Linked DNA regions of Homo sapiens: region 1 is linked to region 2. Evidence: promoter capture Hi-C in 16 types of primary human blood cells and fetal thymus (Javierre and others, 2016). All regions are on one chromosome and are shown on one strand. The core of a region is centred on a gene start or on the middle of the fragment in contact, and the rest is flanking DNA. Distances in the headings are between cores, read along the strand shown. Region 1 has its middle 13 kb from the start of CD1D. Region 2 holds the start of CD1B (CD1b molecule).

What was found. The method cuts DNA at HindIII sites, captures the fragments that hold promoters and counts their contacts. A CHiCAGO score of 5 or more calls a contact.
Region 1: a contact is called between a fragment that was not itself captured here and the fragment with the promoter of CD1B in region 2, in 3 of 17 cell types (fetal thymus, M2 macrophages and M0 macrophages). The highest score is 15.1, in fetal thymus.

What each region holds. Positions count from the first base shown.
Region 1 is chr1:158,191,850-158,195,155 of GRCh38, reverse strand. No RefSeq gene overlaps it. Among named protein-coding and RNA genes, the nearest start is that of CD1D, 13 kb to the right of the region's middle. RefSeq lists enhancers at 1,156-1,861, 1,862-2,568. The HindIII fragment of the contact is 5,198 bases long and covers 1-3,306 here.
Region 2 is chr1:158,329,762-158,332,846 of GRCh38, reverse strand. It overlaps CD1B (CD1b molecule), which reads left to right and starts at 1,316. Exons shown (of 6, transcript NM_001764.3): 1 at 1,316-1,484; 2 at 1,785-2,051; 3 at 2,717-2,995. The coding sequence starts at 1,424. The HindIII fragment of the contact is 309 bases long and covers 1,055-1,363 here.

The sequences.
Region 1 (3,306 bases), core at 174-2,673, 140 kb after region 2:
AGCAGGGTAACTATAGTTAACATATTGTATATTTCAAAATAGCTGGAAGAAAAGATTTGAAATGTTACCAAGCGCAAAGAAATGGTAAATGTTTGAGATGATGGGTATGTTAAACACTCTGATTTGATCATTACACATGTATACATGTATCAAAATATCCCATGCACCCCATAAATACATACAATTATTATGTATCAACTTAAGAATTTTTTAAAAAGTAAATAGGAGAGGTTATTCTTTATGAGAGGGACAATGGGAAGCGGAGAGGAAGGGATACTAATTTTCTTTTCTGTCAGCATTTGTTTGAATTTTTAATCATATGTATGTTACATGATTTTTGTCATCAGGACTTATCTGCTGAAGAGGCACAATTTATTTTCTTTGTGTCACTAATTAAACTAGCTATTAATTATTTTTTAAAGAAATGGATAAAGATGTCAAATCAACAGCTTCAGCTTTTATCTTTAAAAGCTAGGGGGGAAAGAACAAACTAAACCCAAATTAAACAGAAGAAAGAAATCAATGAAAAGATTAATAAAACCAACAAACCTCTAGCCTGATTAATCTGTGGAGAAAGAGGAACAATACAAATTATCAATATCAGAAAAAGTTATTCAGATTATCTATTTCTTTTTTTTTTTTTTTTTTTTTTTTTTGAGACAGAGTCCCACTTTGTCACTCAGGCTGGAATGCAGTGGTACAATCTTGGCTCATTGCAACCTCCACCCCCCAGGTCCAAGCGATTCTCCTGCCTCAGCCTCCCGAGTAGCTGGGACTACAGACGCCAGCCACTGTGCCTGGCTAATTTTTATATTTTTAGTAGAGACAGGGTTTCACCATCTTGGCCAGGCTGGTCTTGAACTCCTGACCTTGTGATCCACCCGCCTCGGCCTCCCAAAGTGTTGTGATTACAGGCGTGAGCCACCGCGCCTGGCCATCTGTTTCTTTTTGAGTGAACTTTGGTAGTCTGTGTTTTTCAAGGTGTTTATTCATTTAATCAGAGCTGTTGAATAACTCTATATCTGCTAAAGAAAAGTGCATTTGTAGTTAAAAGCCTGCCTAAAAATGTCCCAAGACTGCATCTAAATGTTAAAACCAAATATACATCCAAAACTGAAAATGAAAAGTAGTCTGAGAAATGTACTTTTACCTTTCCAGTTTCAGCAAACCAATTCATAGCATCCACGACCCTGCATTTTAGATGAAGCATTTCTTCACCTAGATTCCAATAATTTGGAAAAGAAAAGAGAAAATGGTATCTCTACAAAATAAACTATTTTTCCTCCATTTTGAAAAGCCCTTGAATGACCTGCAATTCATTAATAGATTTTGGAGCAAGAGAGCCAGCACACTGATCAGGGGAGCTAACAAAGAATTAATAGATTCCAGGAGGGTGAGGAGTAGAGCCCAAAAAATGGTCTCCAGGGAGTTAGATACCAGAAGTCAGGAAGATGTGCTGTGGTAGCACAAAGCCATGCGTTAAGATTTTACTTATCGGCCAGGCACAGCGACTCACGCCTGTAATCTCAGCACTTTGGGAGGCCAAGGTGGGCAGATCACCTGAGGTCAGGAGTTCAAGACCAGCCTGGTCAACATAGCCAAACCCCATCTTTATGAAAAAAAATACAAAAATTAGCCAGGCGTGGTGGCGGGCGCCTGTAATCCCAGCTACTTGGGGGGCTGAGACAGGAGAATCGCTTGAACCTTGAACCTAGGAGACAGAAGTTGCAGTGAGCCGAGACTGCACCACTGTACTCCAGCCTGGAGGACAGAGTGAGACTCTGTCTCCAAAGGAAAAAAATATATATTTTACCTATTCTTTTGAGGTGATAACTATCGGGGGACCTGCCCCAATAATCACGTAGGTTCATTTCTATTTTCCTAAGCGTCGGCTGGCTTGAGAAATAAAGGGACAGAGTACAAAAGAGAGAAATTTTAAAGCTGGGCATCCGGGGGAGACATCACACGTTGGTAGGATCCGTGATGCCCCACAAGCCACAAAAACCAGCAAGTTTTTATCAGGGAGTTTCAAAAGGGGAGGGAGTATACGAATAGGTGTGGGTGACAGACATCAAGTACTTAACAGGGTAATAGAATATCACAAGGCAAGTGGAGGCAGGGCGAGATCACAGGACCACAGGATGGAGGCAAAATTAAAATTGCTAATGAAGTTTCAGGCACCATTGTCATTGATAACATCTTATCAGGAGACAGCGTTTTGAGATCAACCGGTCTGACCAAAATTTATTAGGCGGGAATTTCCTCTTCCTAATAAGCCTGGGAGTGCTGTGGGAGACTGGAGTTTATTTCACCTCTGCAATCTCGACCAAAAGAGACAGATACGCCCCGGGGGGGCCAGTTCAGAGACCTACCCCTAGGTGCGCATTCTCTTTCTCAGGGACGTTCCATGCTGAGAAAAAGAATTCAGCGATATTTCTCCCATTTGCTTTTGAAAGAAGAGAAATATGGCTCTGTTCTGCCCGGCTCACCGGCAGTCAGAGTTTAAGGTTATCTCTCTTATTCTCTGAACAATTGCTGTTATCCTATTCTTTTTTCAGGGTGCCCACATTTCATATTGCTCAAACACACATGCTGTACAATTTGTGTAGTTAACGCAATTATTACAGGGTCCTGAGACGATATACATCCTTCTCGGCTGACAGGATTAAGAGATTAAAGCAAAGACAGGCATAGGAAATCACAAGGATATTGATTGGGGAAGTGATAAGTGTCCATGAAATCTTTACAATTTATGTTTAGAGATTGCAGTAAAGACAGGCATAAGAAATTACAAAAGTATTAATTTGGGGAACTAATAAATGTCCATAAAATCTTCACAATCCACATTCTTCTGTCATGGCTTCAGCCGGTCCCTCCGTTTGGGGTCCCTGACTTCCCGCAACAGATAACCAAGAGTAAAAATTTTGTAAAATTTTAGGAAAGTAAACGGAGGTATTATCAGAGTCATATGGTATCTATTGTCTTAATGTTTTATCATACTTTCATATTAATTTAAATTATGGTATCATATTTCATCATGCTAAGATGTAACCAATTGTAATTATGCAAATATTTTATGTACCACTAAGAAAAGAAAAAAACTGTCAAATAAACCAACACAATATTTTTATCTCTTTGTGTTTTAACTTTTCAAGTGGTCTTTTGAACTTTTTTAGACAAGCATATTAATTATATATAATTTTTGTGAATAAACAAAAGAAAATGTAAGAGAAATAAATTGGTTTACAGATTCTCAAAACTTAGTAAAGTTGTTCTAGTTCTTTCAAGTCAAAGTTAATATATCTA
Region 2 (3,085 bases), core at 67-2,566:
ATTGGAGTCTGGGAATGTTGTTAAGAGATACATACATTGAAATTTGGAGAGCTGCTCTGTATTTATCAATTAGGCAGTAATAATCTTGGATGAAGGCTAGTCTTATTAATGTTGTGAACCAGTCTTATTAATGTTGTGAACCAGTAGTGTCCCCAGGAATAGAGAACACTACACTACTCACTTTGCATTTTCTTATCCACATAATAGAATTAGTTAGTGATAACCCTCTTTACTCGGAATCGATTGCTGCCACATTTCTGCATGATACATAGATCTCTGCAAATATGTGATTTTTTTCCTAAATGGAGAAAATCCAAAAATTCTTCTTAAAATTTTTCATGGGCATACAAGAAGATAGGAGGTGACATCTTAAAACAAGTATCTCTGAACTTTTTGTATAAAAAAAAGCAACCTCTTTGCTCTATTATTAATACCACATGTGGTGATATGAATGCCCAAATGTAGACAGCAGTTATGAGATATTACAAGAGAAGAAAAAAGCTCTGCCGCTTATGGCAACTTACCCAAAAAGTTATCTTTGACTTAGGCTGGAGGTGCACATAGCATAGCTCCTAGAGTTCTGTTTATGTCATGAATATTTGTTACTCAAAACTCCATAGGCCAAGAGCTCCTGAAGAGAAGGTCACATGCTAGCAGCAATTGTCATTTTTTCCCTCAAATATTGCTATAGTATAATTTTGTTTGAATTATAAACTTCAGTCTTTATTATATTTGATTCTGGCATTTTGGTTTGTAGTGCTATAGTACAGGAAATGTTTTAAATGCTTTGCCTTTATGTAAGTGAATATCGGTACACACACATACACATACACACACAGACACAGACACACACACACACACACTCACAGCCAGTTTAGAATGTGGGGTAAGGAACACCAGACAAAGAGGGCAATATAAGAAAGAGAAGACATTGAAAACATTGGGAAGAGGCAGTAACAGAGTGCCAGAGAAGATAAGGCAGCTGGGAGGGGGAGAAACTAAGTGAGGTGGATAAACTAAAAGCATCCTTCTGGGTTAAAGCAGACTAAAAGCTTAGCAATTGCTTAATATCACCATCTTATCCTATAGATGTGGGAATAAAGGCTAAGGAAGGAGAAATGAAAATGCAGAATCATATGGGGGCTTTTCCAAGGAGGTATGAAGGAAGGTGAGGACAGGGAGAGCGGCTGGAAGTCAGGGGGTAAGAGAAACTCTAAAAATCAGGGCTTGAGGGAAATAAAAGGTGAGGTAAGAGGCTCAGGGCTGTGGGAGGCACATTTTTCTCTGAAAAGCAGTTTGGATGAGGAAGAGATTTGGCAGTTGGAAGAGAGAAGAAGTCACTACAGGGTACTGAGGAAAAGCTTTGCTGAAATTGGAGATCAAATACCAGCTCTGCCAGTAAGAAGTTGCATCTCCCAGTGAAATGCTGCTGCTGCCATTTCAACTGTTAGCTGTTCTCTTTCCTGGTGGTAACAGTGAACATGGTAAGAGTCACTCTGGCAGCTCCCAGCACTGGTGCAGGGGTTTGGATTTTAAAAAGCAAGCAGGGCTTTCCTAGGTGCAATTGGACACTAAGGGTCTGGGTCTTTCTGTCTCCCGCCCTCTTCAACCATTCTGGTGGTTGGGACTAGAACCTGAAGCCTTAAGGCAGTCAAATGTGTCAGACTTCCTGTGTTCTTTAGACTCTAGGTTCTTGTTTTCTAAATCATTTTCATTCCCATTCTTCCTAATTGTCTCCTGCTTCTCTCTTTATCTTCACCATCTTGCTTTTCCACTCTTCACAGCCTTCCAGGGGCCGACCTCCTTTCATGTTATCCAGACCTCGTCCTTTACCAATAGTACCTGGGCACAAACTCAAGGCTCAGGCTGGTTGGATGATTTGCAGATTCATGGCTGGGATAGCGACTCAGGCACTGCCATATTCCTGAAGCCTTGGTCTAAAGGTAACTTTAGTGATAAGGAGGTTGCTGAGTTAGAGGAGATATTCCGAGTCTACATCTTTGGATTCGCTCGAGAAGTACAAGACTTTGCCGGTGATTTCCAGATGAAATGTGAGTCTAGTCCACCGAACTGGGAAGAGTCTCAAGGACTCTCTTTTCTCTCTTTTTTGCAAAGTGTTGCTCTCTCTGATGCTTCTCCCTTCCTTTCTATTTTACCCAAATGCACGCACATGCTTTTCTTGAGTAGTCTCTCACTCCAGCTTCACACCATCACACCTCATATTTCAGATTCTTGCTGCCTCTGCACTCTTCTCTTACTCTCAGACTGTCTTCCACTTTGTAACCAGCTGCTGGTTTGTCTTATGTGAAACTTCTCCTCAAGGGCCCTTACTTCTCCTACCCTGTGCCTGAGTGATCTAACGTGTGGCTTTCTCCCCTAATCCATCTTTTCAATCATCTCCTCCCCGCACCCTCCTCTTGCTGGGAACCTCCACTCACTCTGGAATGCTGCACTCCTGACTGCACCACGCTCTGCCTCACCTCTCCTTTCATACTCACTGTACTCCTTTATCACATACCTTTGTCTTCATGGCATGCACATTTTTCTCAATGCTCTTGTTTCTGAAAATGTCTAAATGTTATCATTAGTTTTTAGCTCATCATCATTTTACACCAAATAACTTTATCCCCACCAAAATCTAAAATCCTAGGTTCTTTTCTCATGCCTTTTTTTCTTATTTGTGTTTAATAACTTGCTCTCTTTTCCCTCTACATAGACCCCTTTGAGATCCAGGGCATAGCAGGCTGTGAGCTACATTCTGGAGGTGCCATAGTAAGCTTCCTGAGGGGAGCTCTAGGAGGATTGGATTTCCTGAGTGTCAAGAATGCTTCATGTGTGCCTTCCCCAGAAGGTGGCAGCAGGGCACAGAAATTCTGTGCACTAATCATACAATATCAAGGTATCATGGAAACTGTGAGAATTCTCCTCTATGAAACCTGCCCCCGATATCTCTTGGGCGTCCTCAATGCAGGAAAAGCAGATCTGCAAAGACAAGGTTAGTCCTGCTGTTATTTCACTTCCCACCACCTCCTCTAAGATCAAGAGTAGGAAGATATCAAAGGATAGGAGCTTAAATAACAAGTTA